2 separate regions of the Homo sapiens genome follow, and region 2 is linked to region 1. The links are contacts of gene promoters, found by promoter capture Hi-C in human tissues and cell types (Jung and others, 2019). All regions are on one chromosome and are shown on one strand. The core of a region is centred on a gene start or on the middle of the fragment in contact, and the rest is flanking DNA. Distances in the headings are between cores, read along the strand shown.

Region 1 (6,868 bases), core at 2,363-4,862:
CCAGTACTTTGGGAGTTGACGTGGGAGGATGGCGTAAGCCCAGGAGTTTGAGACCAGTCTGGGCAACAGAGCAAGACCCCATCTCTTTTTTAAAAAATTCTTATGAAACCAGTAAAAACACATATCCAAAAGTCATGCAGCTATACAGCACTAGTAAAAGAAACCAAAAACAGAAGAAAACATTTGTGACTCAGAGGAACCCTATGGGACATTCAAGTGGTGATTTCGGGAATCCAACTGAGGACGGCCACTCCCCACAGCAGGCGGCCAGGCTCCTTCTCGCTGCCCTGACATCAGCAAATGTGAGGGAAGCCACCTCCGAGTACTTTCTGGTTTCAAACTGTCCTATCTGAGCGGCAGTAGGTGGTACTATTTTATTTTTTAATTCATGCCATACTTGAAGCTACTCAACAATGGCACAATCGGGGTGTCTTGTTGCCTGAAAATGCATTTTGAGTTGAGGCAAAAAGCTGATGTCAAGAGACTGGGAGCCAACTTCGGGGCAGCTCAGTCTGAGCCGAAAAGTGGGGCACCCCTCTGCCGGCCTGCACTGCTGGGATAAAGTCGTTTGTGAGTGAAGCAATGAGGCAGGGCCCTCCGGCTCACTCTGAAAGTCAAGTCTGGGGCGTCCTGGTACCCTTTCACCCCATGCTGAGCTGCTGCCCTCAGGAAGCACTGTACATCACACGCCTGTTCTCTCCACTTCTCCTTTCCTTCCCTGGCTGGGAGAGGGACAACTGTCCCAGCGATGCCTAAATACAGGGAGTGGGATGTAGAAGGCTCGCCTGAGGGTGAACCCAGGGACTGCACCCATGCTTGCTTCCCTGGGGTATGCACCCTGGGGAGACCCTGGGGAGGCATGGTGCTCTGTCAAGGGAGCTAGAGTGGCCTGCAAGGGGCCTTGGCAGTGAGGGGCTCCAGCTGCGAGCCTGAAGGTGCGTGTCCTGGGGCGGCACTCACCCCCCGACTCCAGTCTTGGGCCAGACACCCCTGCCCACTCCCGGGATGCCAGTGGCTTGGCGGCAGCCTGAGTGGTGAGCTGGCACACCCCCATCTCCCCATCCCGAATGTGGCCTCCAGCACAGAGACAACTGGCCTAGGAAGGAAGAGCATGCAAACAGCTCCAGGCAGGATGGAAGTGGGGACCCCTGCATGAGCCCCCTTCACTTCCCCAAGCATGAGGATGCACTGGCTTCTTTAGGGAAGGAAGGTATGAGTGTGTTCAAAGGCACAGATGCAGGGCCCAGACGTCCCCCACAGGGTAATGGCTGCAGCCCCGGGGGGAATGGCTGCAGCCCCGGGAGAGGCTGGGGCAGGGCAGGGCCGGCCACAGTGCCTCTGCTCCAAACAGAATGACGATCTGTCCCAGACCCCTGGTGAATTCCTAATAAGCAAGTGAACTCGTGAGTTAAAAAGTGAAGCCCTAAAAACATGGGCCTCAGTTTGCTACAGTCAATCCTCCACCTCAGCTATCCAGGGAAGTCAGAACCATTCTCCTGCCTGACCTAAAAGCTCTTCTTTCCAGCACCACCGGGCCCCAGAGTCCACCTCTTCCCCTTCGTCAGAGCCCCAGAGGGCAGAGCTGCTCCCACATGGGCTCAGAGGGGACCCACCAGAAGCGGGGCCTGTGAGGTGGCAGCCACTCAGTCATTCTGGAATTAAACAAGTGTTTTCAACGGAACTGGAGCCTGAGATTGACCACATGGCAGAGCTAAGTGTAAATACTGCTGAGAAAATTAATATCATATGTATTTTATTACATTTACTCTTCATTAAGAGGAAGCCACCTACAAAAACATAAAGGACATTTATATTTGACCTAGTTTTAACAAGTATTTAAATATTCAAACAACCCCAGAGTGGGAGAACTTTGACTTCACTGGAGTCAAAATGTAAAAAGCAAAGGTCACCCCAAATGCCATCTGGATAGGGCAGGTTTCCCTGGAGTCTGACCACAGCAAGCAGAGTGCAGACTTCCATAGAGGCCGCGACCATGGTTCCTGACGGTTCCATCCCACTTCCCGCCAGTGTCTGGCACTGAGCCTCCACCCTCATCTGTAAAGGGAGGGTGGTCACCTCCAGGACCAGGCCAGTATCAGAGACAGCCTCTTTACAGAGCCTTCAGCTCTAGTCATCTTCCACTGGGATGTAACATAGAGGCCGACAGTGCACACCAAGGGCTTCGGAAAGGTTCTCTTTTTATGAACACTGGAGAATGCGACTACAGACCCTCCCGAGAAGGAATGGCCAGTGCACCTGAATGCAGGGTGCATACCCCAGGACTGAGACTGGAGGGAGGCACACCCCAGCATGGCAATGGGGGAGACTAAAGCCCACCCAAGGCTGGATAAGGAGGGGTGGGCGCGCATGGTGGGGGAGGCGCAATGCAGAGAAGTGGGCGCACACCGTGGGGCGTGATAGGGAGGGGTGGGCACACACTATAGGGGGCGTGATGGGGAGGGGTGGGCGCACATCGTGGAGGGGGTGATGGGGAGGGGTGGACGCACACTGGGGGTGTGATGGAAAGGGGGACGCGATGGATAGGGGTGGGCGCACACTGGGGGACGCGACGGGGAGGGGTGAGCACACACTGGGGGTGTGATGGAGAGGGCGACGCAATAGGGAGGGGTGGGCGCACACCAGGGACGCGATGATGGGGACGGGTGGGCGCACACCAGGTGGCATGATGGGGAGGAGTGGGTACACACCATGGGGGGCGTGATGGGGAGGCGTGGGCGTACACCGGGGGGCGCGATGGGGAGGGGTGGGCGCACACCGGGGGACGCGATGGAGGCGGTGGGTGCACACGGGGCGCGATGGGTGGGAGTAGGTGCACACTGAGGGCACGATTGGGGAGACACGAAGGAGAGGGGTGGGCGCACACTGGGGGACGCGATGGCCGGGACACGATGCGGAGAAGTGGGTGAATACCGGGGTCGCGATGGGCGCCCTGGAAGGACGGCAGTGCTGCTCACAGGGGCCAGGCCCCTCAGAGCGCGCCCCTTGGGGGTAACCCCAGACGCTTGTTCCCGAGCCGACTCCGTGCACTCGACACAGGATCCCGCACCCAGGGCGATGCCGGGGGAGAGGGCGACCCCAACCAGCAATGACTCAGGAGAGGAGCACGCAAAGACGCTTCGGGGACACTGCTGGGGCGGGATCCGAGGGCGCCGCGCTCTGCAGGAGCAGCAGCGCGGGGCCCGACACCGGGCGCTCAAGGAGGCGCTGGGCGCGCGCCTTCCCAGCTGGGGAGGAGACGGGCGTGGAGCGGAGGCGTGGCCAGGCCCGGAGGGGGCGGAGCTCGCGGCACAGCGCGCTTCGCGGGGGCAGAGGGGGCGCACCTTGGGCGGGCCCACTTAGGGGCGGGGCTCTAGAGGGCGGGGAGGGGCGGAGCCTGTCAGGGGCGGGACGCGGGGCGGAGTCGGGGTGGGGGCGGAGCCGGGCTGGGGGCGGGACGCCCGCGATAGACGCGCGTGCAGGCGGGGTCGCCGCGCTTACCTTGGGCTTCTCCTCGGACATGGCTGCGCGAGCGGCGCGGGGAGGCGGCGCGGGGGAAGCAGCGCGGAGCGGGCGAGTCACGCTCTCGGCCCCGCCGCTCTCCCGCCGCAACTGTGCGCGGGGCCGCGCTTTATCCCCCAAATCCCGGCGCACCCGTTGGCCGGCACGGGGGTCACGTGGCTGCGCGCGTTCACGAGGCGCGCTCCCCGGGGCGTCGGGCGCGCGCAGGCCGGGCCGCGGCTCTGGGCGGTTGGAGATGCGTCACGGGGCGGGTCCCGCGCGACCCCGTCGGGCGCGGAAGCCCTAGGGCGCTGTGGGGCGCGGGCCAGGAGCGTTTACGGGGAGCCCGGGCCCTGGGGACCCTTGCCCGCCTCCCCGCGTCGCCCGGGCCCCGACTCCTTTCCTGGGGGCCGCGTTCCTGGGGCGCCGGGAAGTGAGGCCGGGGCCGCCGCCCATGGCCGCAGGGACCTGGGGCGGAGGAGGGAGGACGCTGGGGGTGACGTTCCCTCTCAGGAGCCGCGGACAGAGCGGAGAAGGCGGCCCGCGGGGTCCCGTCCGCGGGGGCCGCGCGAATCGGGCCAGCACCCTAGACGATTGGGGGCGCCACCCGCCTCCCTGCCGCCGCGGTTTCCTGTCAGCCCCAGGCCGGGCTCCTTTGGCCAACGCTCCTACGGGGCTGCCCCGGGCCCTCCACACCCGTCCTCAAGAAGACCCGTTTTACCTGTGAAGAAACTGAGGCACTGGGAGGTCAAACCACCCCCAGGTCAGCGCTGGTGAGCGGCGCCGAGCTTGGCCAGGCCGCCACGTCGGCGAGCGCGGGCAAACCCAGGCTGGACGCCGCCAGTGCCGGCGGAACGGGGACCTCGTGGACGCGGGAAACGCGCTGGGCCGGCAGGACGGCCTCCCCGGACTTGCGGGCGCCATTCCTGGGGTGCCTGGCCCGCCCCGGCCTCCATGTCTGTGATCCCAGGGCCTCGGATGGAACGGACCTGAGGGCGGACACCCCTGCGTCCCTCAGGAGTGCCCGGGTGGTGCCAGCCGGGGCGTGGCGGAGGTCTCATCTGATGGTGAGCCCGGCCGAAGGCGGGGGAGGCCGCACTTCAGGCTCAGCTGGGAAATGGCAGGGCCTGGATTTGAACCTAAGCGTCTGAGCCGTTTCTGTCCTGCCTGGGAAAGGCTCAGCCAACTGAGCAACGTCGCAAAGCCATGGAGACAAGTCTTCATGGACCATAACTTCACAAACCGTCTTCTACTCAAAAATTCACTTTCTTGGCTAGAGCCCCCACTTAGGAGGGGGAAGGCTGCTGAAGTCTTTCGGGGAGAGGGTCTGAGAGTCAGCCCCAGTCCCAGGCAGGTCATAAGGTGTGGTCCCTTCCTTCTGGAACCTGGAGCCCAGGGCCTCAGCAGAGGATGTGGAGGTGGGTGGCCAGCTCAGACGGTCCTGGGAGGGGGCTCCGCAACCAGCCCCTTCCGAGGGGACGTGGCGCCTCAGAGCCCACAGATTGCTGGCCCTGGAAGTGCCCTAGGGCAGGCAGGGTTCAGAGAGTTATCGACTCCAAGACACCGTTAATCATAAAACAACACGACCGTAGGTAGCACAGACACACTAAACTCCGGCAGGCTGTGGATGACGGCAGCCCGCTTCAGTGTTGTGGAAGTGAGAAACACGCAGCTTAGAAATCATGAGACACAGAACCCAAATGTGTTACCGCTCGAAATTACGCCAGTTGCTGTGTCACGAAGTGATGCGTGACTACAGTCATGGATAAGGGAAAAAGAGGCTCAGATGACATTAGGTTTTAAAAAGCCAGGCTATAAGACAATGGTGGTCTGAATTCAATTCATGCTGTGTCTGTCTCCCACACTGTGACCTGCCCCGAATCCTTCATGTGACAGCAAAGATGCAAAAAGGCTCTGTCGCAGCTGTGGGGACACAAAGGACACCGCTGGTGGACCGAACGCCAAGAGGTTTCTGAAGGACACAGCCAAAGGGGATCGAATGGACGGAGGAACCAGAGCTCAGGAAAAACCGTGGCCTACCACGAGCACAGGGTAAAGAACCCAAATGGCCAGAGCCCCTCCGGAGGGTCGCCACACCTGGCGATGGTCCCAACAAGAAGACTCATGAGAAGGCAGGGAACTGGCAAATGAGTAACAGCATTGCTGACATGAAAGCTCGACCCACATGTGACTAGGAGAGGGGTCCTGGCTGAGGACGCAAAGAACTGCGAGACAAAGTCACAGGACTCTCCCATGATGGAGAAGTTAAGAGAGGAAAGGTCAGGGCTGGGCTGGGTGGCTCATGCCTGTAATCCCAGCACTTTGGGATGCTGAGGCTGGTGGATTACAAGGTCAGGAGTTCGAGACCAGCCTGGTCAACATGGTGAAACCCCGTCTCCACAAAAAAATTAGCCGGGCCTGGTGGCGCATGCCTGTAATCCCAGCTGCTTGGGAGGCTGAGGCAGGAGAATCGCTTAAACCCAGGAGGCAGAGGTTGCAGTGAGCTAAGATCGTGCCGCTGCACTCCAGCCTGGGCAACAGGGTGAGACTCCATTTCAAAAAAAAAGAAAAGAGAGAGGGAAGGTTGGAAGGCCGAGACACCGGGCATCAGTACAGGAAGGGCTACGTCCACCTGACAGGAGCTGCAGGAGAAGGTGGAAAAAAGGAAACCAGGACAAAATCAAAGACAGAATTGGAGAAAATATCTCTGAGGCCAGGCACGGTGGCTCACGCTTGTAATCCCAGCACTTTGGGAGGCTGAGGCAGGCGGATCACCTGAGGTCAGGAGTTTGAGACCAGCCTGAGCAACATGGTGAAACCCCATCTCTACTAAAAATACAAGAATTAGCTGAGTGTGGTTGTGTGTGCCTGTAATTCTGGCTCCTTGGAAGCCTGAGGCTGGAGAATCAGCTTGAACTCAGGAGGCAGAAGCTGCAGTGAGCCAAGGTCGCACCACTGCACTCCAGCCTGGGCAACAGGGCAAGACCCTATCTCAAAGAAAAAGTAAAAATAAGAAATTTCTCTGAACTAAAGAAATATTTGACTCCATAAATGGAAAGGGCCCCTGAGTATCCAATGGCTGAGTGAGAAGACTGACACAGATGCTTGGCATGTGAGGAGAAATCCCTGAGGCGTTCAGAGACGTTTCTACTTACAGTTAGGGAGGACTGGTTGCCTCAGACAAACCCAACAAAAATAGCCCAAAAATCAGTATAAAATATTCTTTAAATCTGTTTAAGGCTATCAGCTACCAAAAGAAGTCTTTCTGTGAGGGGCAAAGACCTTCCCCCACCTCAAAAAGAAAAGGGAAGAGTTTTTTTCCTTTGAGGCACTTGGTGATTAGTATCCTGTGTTAGCCTAGACTTCCATA
Region 2 (6,868 bases), core at 2,901-5,400, 40 kb after region 1:
CAGGGAGGGGACGTCCCGGCCAGTGGGCAGAGCCACCCAGCGTTTACAGTCCAGGGCACCAGCAGCATGGGGCCTCTGCAGCCCCCATGAGAGGGAACCCAACGCCAATCACCTGCACCTGACGGAGGCGCCGCTCACAGTGGCTGCTGGGCTTTGCCGTCCACCCCCCACCCGATGACCGAGAACCGCAGCGACGTCCTCATGCCCCCAGTGGGTGGGACCCTAAAATACCACAAATATATGATATTCCCTAAAACAAACAGAAGACTCAAAACACGTGCATTAGTCAGAAAAGGCTCTGAAATTTTCCAATTAGGTTTAGCCTTTAATATACTGCTTCAAGGAAAGCACCGTGGGCGCAGGACGACAGATTCCTGAGGCCCACGGCTGCCATGAACCCAGGACCACGCACCTCGCACAGGCGAGGAGTCAGTTCCCACCATGTCCATGACGCCACACAACCACAAACCCAGCGCGGGAGACGCCCATGACACCACACAACCACAAACCCAGCGCGGGAGACACTAGACTCTTTGCGGACTTTAAAATCATACAGAATCAACGAAGCACGGCTGGGTGGTGGTGTTCAGTGTTAAGCAGTGAACATCACGTGGTTTGGGGGAGTATAGATAACGTAATGTGTATTTCCAATTCACTCCAACTAAATAAAAGGTTTACACTTGGCAAATACATTCATTCTGGCTCCTTCAAAGCTCCTCTCCAAAATCTCTCCAGACACAACCAAACAAGAACAGAACGCCGAGGCTGGGCGAGAAGGAGCAGGGCCGGTGCTGGGGAGTGCTTGGAAGGAGCGCCTGCCACACTCAGAAGATGGCAACGAGCAACGCTCCCGAGGATGAGAGGGCCGCCCTGAAACTCACAGCACCTCGGCTACGCAGGCGTGCCCACAGGAAGCCAAACACGACGGCAGAACAGCTGCAGACTTCCAGCCCAGAAGTCTTGGGACTCGATAAGCAAACAGCTATCTGAGAAAACAGACTTCATGAAGACGACTGGCTGAGATAAAGATATTCTTAGGAGTGAGTTCACCACAGAACCGCTGGGGACAACCGCCAGCTGCTCCTCTCTGGAGAGACGTCCTTCTGTTCCGATGGGTGAACCCACAGCCCCATCTCAGGCCACACTGGCACTAACGAGGACCGAGACAGCGTGCCATCGCCTCCCAACCAGACAAAAAGGAGGCGTGACCAGTCCTTACCATATTTTTTTCTGATTTCATCATGTCTTGTCTTCATCTCTGCTCTCCTAAAACACAGAGGAACATTATGAGCACCAAACGACAGCGCACGGTGGTGTAACTGCTAGACACGCCCTTCCGTGTCCCTCAGTGGGGGCGCCAGGTTTCTTCTGGTGGCTTCCCTCCAGTTCCCAGAGTGAAACCAGGGTGAGGACAAGCTTGGTCATCAGGCCACATACCCACCAGGACAGGCAAGGTGACAACGAACCCAGTCTTCAAAGGCCGTTCCAATGTATTACTCTACTCTTTTCAATAAAAGCAATTCAAATGCCCAATACCGTGATTTTTAAAAAGCTTTTTTCATACAAAGAAAACACAGTAAAAATCATACACCAGGTTCTGAAGATGGTGAGGAAAATGCGATTGTCAGCTTTTACTTAGTAGCATGTGACTTCAAGGTGACTACATGGAAAATCTGTCCCGCTTCCACCCTCGCCCGCCGCCAACCTGACAGTTGGCCCCTCAGGTCCTCTCCTTTGCCAGGTGTGGATTACACCACCTCCTCCTGGGGTTGCCCCAGAGCCCCAGCAAGCACTCAGGAGAGTGCTGTGTCACCAGGGAAAGGGCGACAGGAGAGCTGACCCAGCCACAGTCAGACGCTGTCCCCTCTGAGCCTCAGCTTGCTCTTGGCAAATGCTGGGCCTGGACGAGCCGCCTTAGCAGCCGTCACACACCCGTGTCACCGCGCACAGACTCAGCCTTACTGCACCGATGGGAGGACACCGGGCGAGGAAGCCTATAGAAGCAAGGTTCGCAGCCACTGCTAGGTTCCCATCACAGTCTCTCGCTCTCTACCACGACCTAGAAGATCCCCTGGGCACTATACACATTCTTAATTTCTAAAAACTGAGGAAAACTCAGGATGTATCCATGTGATTTCCATGGCCTTGCAGATCTGAATCCCCTCGAAGTAACCTTCCCAGCGGGCATCACCACCACCTCACCGTTCCTCCTGCCGTATCCGCCTCTCCTCCCGCTCACGCATGGCCTTCTCCTCACTCCTGTCCGGCTTCCGGCTCCTCTTCCTCCTGCAGCAGCAGCAGCAGCAGATGGCAATGCCCAGGAGGAGGGTTCCCCCGACTACCGACATGGTGATGATCAGCGCCTCAAAGTTCACTGGAGATTCAAGCACCTGGAGTTAGGGCCGCCCCAGACACAGAACCCACCCAGCACAGCAGCCTTCCCTCGCCCCTGGGGAACAACCTCAGGACACAGGAGCATAAGGAGGAAAGCCGCCTCGGCCAGGCTGCTGGCTCCTGGCGTGTGGAGAGCCTGTGGCCCTGCCTCCACCCCACAGGGTCCCGCCCTCTCCAAGTCTCCTTTCAGCCACACGTTCCTATCTGTGACTTAGAATTTATTAACAATTTATAATATTAACCATAATGAACTGAAGTGACAGGGTAGTCTGTCTCAGCTGAGTTTGAAAAGGTATTTCAAGCCTGAGAAAAGTTAACTAACCAAAATTCCAAGCTACATACTCAGACTCTCGTAAGACATTCTAAACTCACAGAAATGGAGGTTAAGCCTGATGCAGCTTTCTTTTTTTTTATTTAAACCAAAGTCAAGAATATTACAATGATTTACAAGAGAAATAGACTCTCAGGGCACATACTGGCGGCCAGGTTCGAAAAGAATGACCGTGGAGGAGCGGACGAGACCACGGAACAAGACGGGATCATCTTCAAATCTGAGTGTTTTGAGGACCTTGGGGCTGAAGAACGGCTGGCTAATCGGTCCCAAACCCTGTTATGATTTCCTTAACCAGCCTTCAGACACACGTGCACATTTAAAACAGATCTTACTATCCTTTTAAACTTCTTTTGAAGATCTATACATTGAAATCAGCCAAGATTTTTCCATTCAGTTCAAACCAGAGGCAATTAAAAAATACCCTAAAACTACTTTTGCAAATGTGTTTTCAATCATGTAGTTCAAACAGCCTCCTTGGCTGGACACAGTGGCTCACACCTATAATCCCAGCACTTTGGGAGGCCAAATCGGGAGGATTGCTTGAGCCCAGGAGTTCAACACCCGCCCAGCCAACAAAGTGAGACCCAGCCCTGCCCATCTCTACAAAACTGTTTAACAAATTAACTGGGTGTGGTGCATGCACCTCTGGTCCCAGCGACATGGGAGGCTGAGGTGGGAGGATCGCTTGAGCTTGGGAGGTTGAGGCTGCAGTGAGCCGTGCCTACACTATTGCACTCCAGCCCGGGCAACACGGCAAGACACCATCTTGAAACAAACAAAAAACACCCAGCCAGCCTCCTGAAGATGGCTTTATAAGCAAACTCCCCTGGGCAGTAGATTACCGCATGATTCACTGTTTTTAACTACAGTTAATAGCTGTGCCACCACCACAGGTGACACCGTCTCACCTCCAGGGGCTGGGAGTTGAACACTTGCTGCATGCCTGGGCCCTGGCAAGGAGGCCGACGGCCAGGCCTCTGGGGCTCCCGCAGCCTCACCCCTCTGCTGCCCCGGACGCTGAGATCCGCATTTCTTAGTTTATTAAAATAGTTTGAAAATCAGGAATAGGAGGTTACATCTGATCAAATGCCTTTTGAGCTTTTAATCCTGTGTTTTTTCCTCCTCTGACCTGTTCTGGAAGCGTAGAATTGCAAAAATTATAGTAAGAGGGAGAACTACAGAGGGGACCTTCATTGGCAGAAGATGTCATTTTCTGACTGGAGAACTCCAATGAGATCAACAAGATGGCTGGCCTTAAAACATATCTACCCCTCAGATAGCTTTTCTGATTAGCAGCTAAAACTAGTTAAAAACAAACAGAAATCCTGTCACAATGGGAAACAAACTCTGGGCTCCTTTTGCTGATTCCATAGGGTAAAACCCATGAACTTGAACTTGAACCAAAGGATGTGGGAGAGGCCTGAAAGAGAGGCATCTTTGCCTCTGGACAAACGGCCAACGCTGTAGACATTTCATTTTCCTTCAAGTAAGCATGTTTATCAGGCCATTACAATTAAAGCTCCAAAATAATTTTGGCTAGAACTGGATAAAATGGTTCTAAGGTTACCTGTAAGAATAAACAAGGACCTGTGGTGCAAGACCTAAAACGGGTATCATGTGCGCCGCGGCATCTGGTGAAATCAGGAGGGCCCTGAGGGCCCGGCCACAACTGCTCCTCCCCACTCTGCTCCCGTGGGCAAGGCTGGACAAGGTCCCAGCTCAGACAGCCTCTTCCTCCTCCCGGCAGGGCCAGGCACACTTTCTGTTTCTCCCGGAGGAGCAGGTGTCAGTTCCCTCTCAGCCTCAGAATTAACCAAACAAGCCCATCGCACCCCACCCTCCTGTCACGAAATGGCTGCCTCCCCGAGCCCTGTTCCCCTGCGGGACCCTGCGTGGCGTGTGGTGCCCCCTCCCCACTGTGACTGTGACTAGTCACCTGCTGCCGCTCTCATGTGCAGGGCTGGGTGTTGTGTGTCCATCCACTTCTGCAGCCTAGCGTGGGGATGTCATTTCACAAGAGAATTGTCAAAAACACCCACCACTTGTAAAGGTGCTCAGCACGATCGGCTAGTCACTGCAGAAATGCAGGTGAGAAGCACAAGACACCACTACACACCCACTAGATGGACTGAACTTAGGGTGACTGGTTACCCTAAACATTGGGAAGGATGTGGAGCAACCAAGTCCCACATTGCCTGAGGGAGGCCAAACTGGTACAGCCACTCCAAAAACATTTGGCAGACGTACTAAGGCTAAACACAAATATGCTCCGTGACACAGCAACTCCACCCCTACACTCCTCCAGACGTGAGCGCCTGTGCCGGCACCAACACAACACCGCTCACAGCAGCACCAGAAGGACCCAGGCGTCCCTGAGTGGCAGCATGGCTGAACAGCTGTAGAACACTGCACGAGAAAGATAACTGGTGCAGGCAATTGACACGAATCTCGGGCACATGCTGAATAAAACATCCAATAAAGCACAGGATTTCCTCCACATAAAGGCGGGAACCAGTAACATTAATCTGTGGTGACGGGAAGTCCAGTCAGTGGCTCCCATGGGGGTCCTGACAGGAATTGGGCCTTCTGAAAGTCCTGGAAGTCCTACCTACTTTGCTGTGAGTGGTGATAACCTGTATACGTATGCAAAAATGCACTGAATATATGTACGCACACACGTGTGCATTATGTAGGCTATAAGCCGCGGTCCATGTAGGCACACACGTGTGCATTATGTAGGCTATAAACTGCGGTCCATGCAGGCACACATGTGTGCATTATGTAGGCTATAAAGTCCATGCAGAGAGAGACTTCAGATGTGTGCACTTCATGAGAAGCTACATGCCATTAAAAACACCTCCAGAACAGGTGTTCCAAAGGGCAAGGCTCCCCAGGTCCAGGAGCTGTGTCTTCAGAGTGGTCATTAAGAGAAGTTCCATGGAAGGGATGAGTTCACAAACACACATGCATCACACACAGTACACACATCACACATGAAGGTGCACACACACCACCACCACCCCCTGCCAGACATCCCACACTACAACCACCACCACCACACAAACTTTTGAATTCTCTAGGGCCTCAACACCAGCAACAAGTTGTTTCAGATGGAGGCTGATAGATTTTGAAATGGAAATCAATTAGAAGAGTGGTAAGTAAGACGTAAGTTGCAGAGGGATCCAAGATGCAAATAAACAAAAAGAATCATCAAAACACCTTAAGAAAATATTGCTTCTTTACAAAGTTTAGGAACCCTATGTATTACCCCAAAACCTGAAGCCTAAAAGATTAATAAATTCAACTACATAATAATGAGTTCTAGGTTACAAAACACACCACAAACTGATTTAAAAGGCAAACTACGGGGCTGGGCGCAGTGGCTCACGCCTGTAATCCCAGCACTTTGGGAGGCTGAGGTGGGCAGATCATGAGGTCAGGAGATCGAGACCATCCTGGCTAACACAGTGAAACCCCGTCTCTACTAAAAAATACAAGAAATTAGCCGGACGTGGTGGCGGGCACCTGTAGTCCCAGCTACTCAGGAGGCTGAGGCAGGAGAATGGCGTGAACCTGGGAGGCGGAGCTTGCAGTGAGCCAAGATAGTGCCATTGCACTCCAGCCCGTCTCAAAAATAAATAAATAAATAAATAAAGGCAAACTAGAAAACAACTTGAATCTCACAAGAGCTGATTTCCTTAATTTAAAAACGCCTCCAAAATCAAATATACAAAGATACGCACACAAAAAAAGAGGGCTGTCTACGCAAGCAGGGATTCTTAAGCTGGGAAAACTGGAGATTCTAGGGGAATTCACAGGTGAGTTTCAGGGGTGACACATGAACAAAACATACTGAGCAGAGAAGTCAAACACGTTGCCTTCAAACTCACCCTTTTCCCCACACCTTCTGTAACGTGGTGAGATAGAGCTCAGTGCTGGGGCTGACCACCTTGAAGGAGGTCCTCCAGGTTCCCCAGGGCTGCTTTCCCGGTCAGCAGATCACCCCTGGCTTCCCAACCTCTCCCTGGGAGTCACAGAGCTACTGGCAGCACATTTTCTAGCAACTTCTGCTAACTGAGCACATAATACTATTTTCTTTTTTTTTTGAGACAGTCTCGCTCTGTCGCCAGGCTGGAGTGC

Evidence for each region. The method cuts DNA at HindIII sites, captures the fragments that hold promoters and counts their contacts. A contact is called where the count stands out against the background at its distance.
Region 2: a contact is called between a fragment that was not itself captured here and the fragment with the promoter of SUMO3 in region 1, in 2 of the 25 tissues and cell types used here (aorta and spleen).

What each region holds. Positions count from the first base shown.
Region 1 is chr21:44,814,450-44,821,317 of GRCh38, forward strand. SUMO3 (small ubiquitin like modifier 3) reads right to left here and starts at 3,613. Exons shown (of 4, transcript NM_006936.3): 1 at 3,499-3,613. The coding sequence starts at 3,519. RefSeq lists an enhancer at 951-1,465 and silencers at 3,145-3,344, 3,525-4,104, 4,125-4,224. The HindIII fragment of the contact is 28,474 bases long and covers 1-6,868 here.
Region 2 is chr21:44,853,991-44,860,858 of GRCh38, forward strand. It overlaps PTTG1IP (PTTG1 interacting protein), which reads right to left. Exons shown (of 6, transcript NM_004339.4): 4 at 2,203-2,374; 5 at 1,220-1,266. Among named protein-coding and RNA genes, the nearest start is that of PTTG1IP, 16 kb to the right of the region's middle. The HindIII fragment of the contact is 9,171 bases long and covers 1-6,868 here.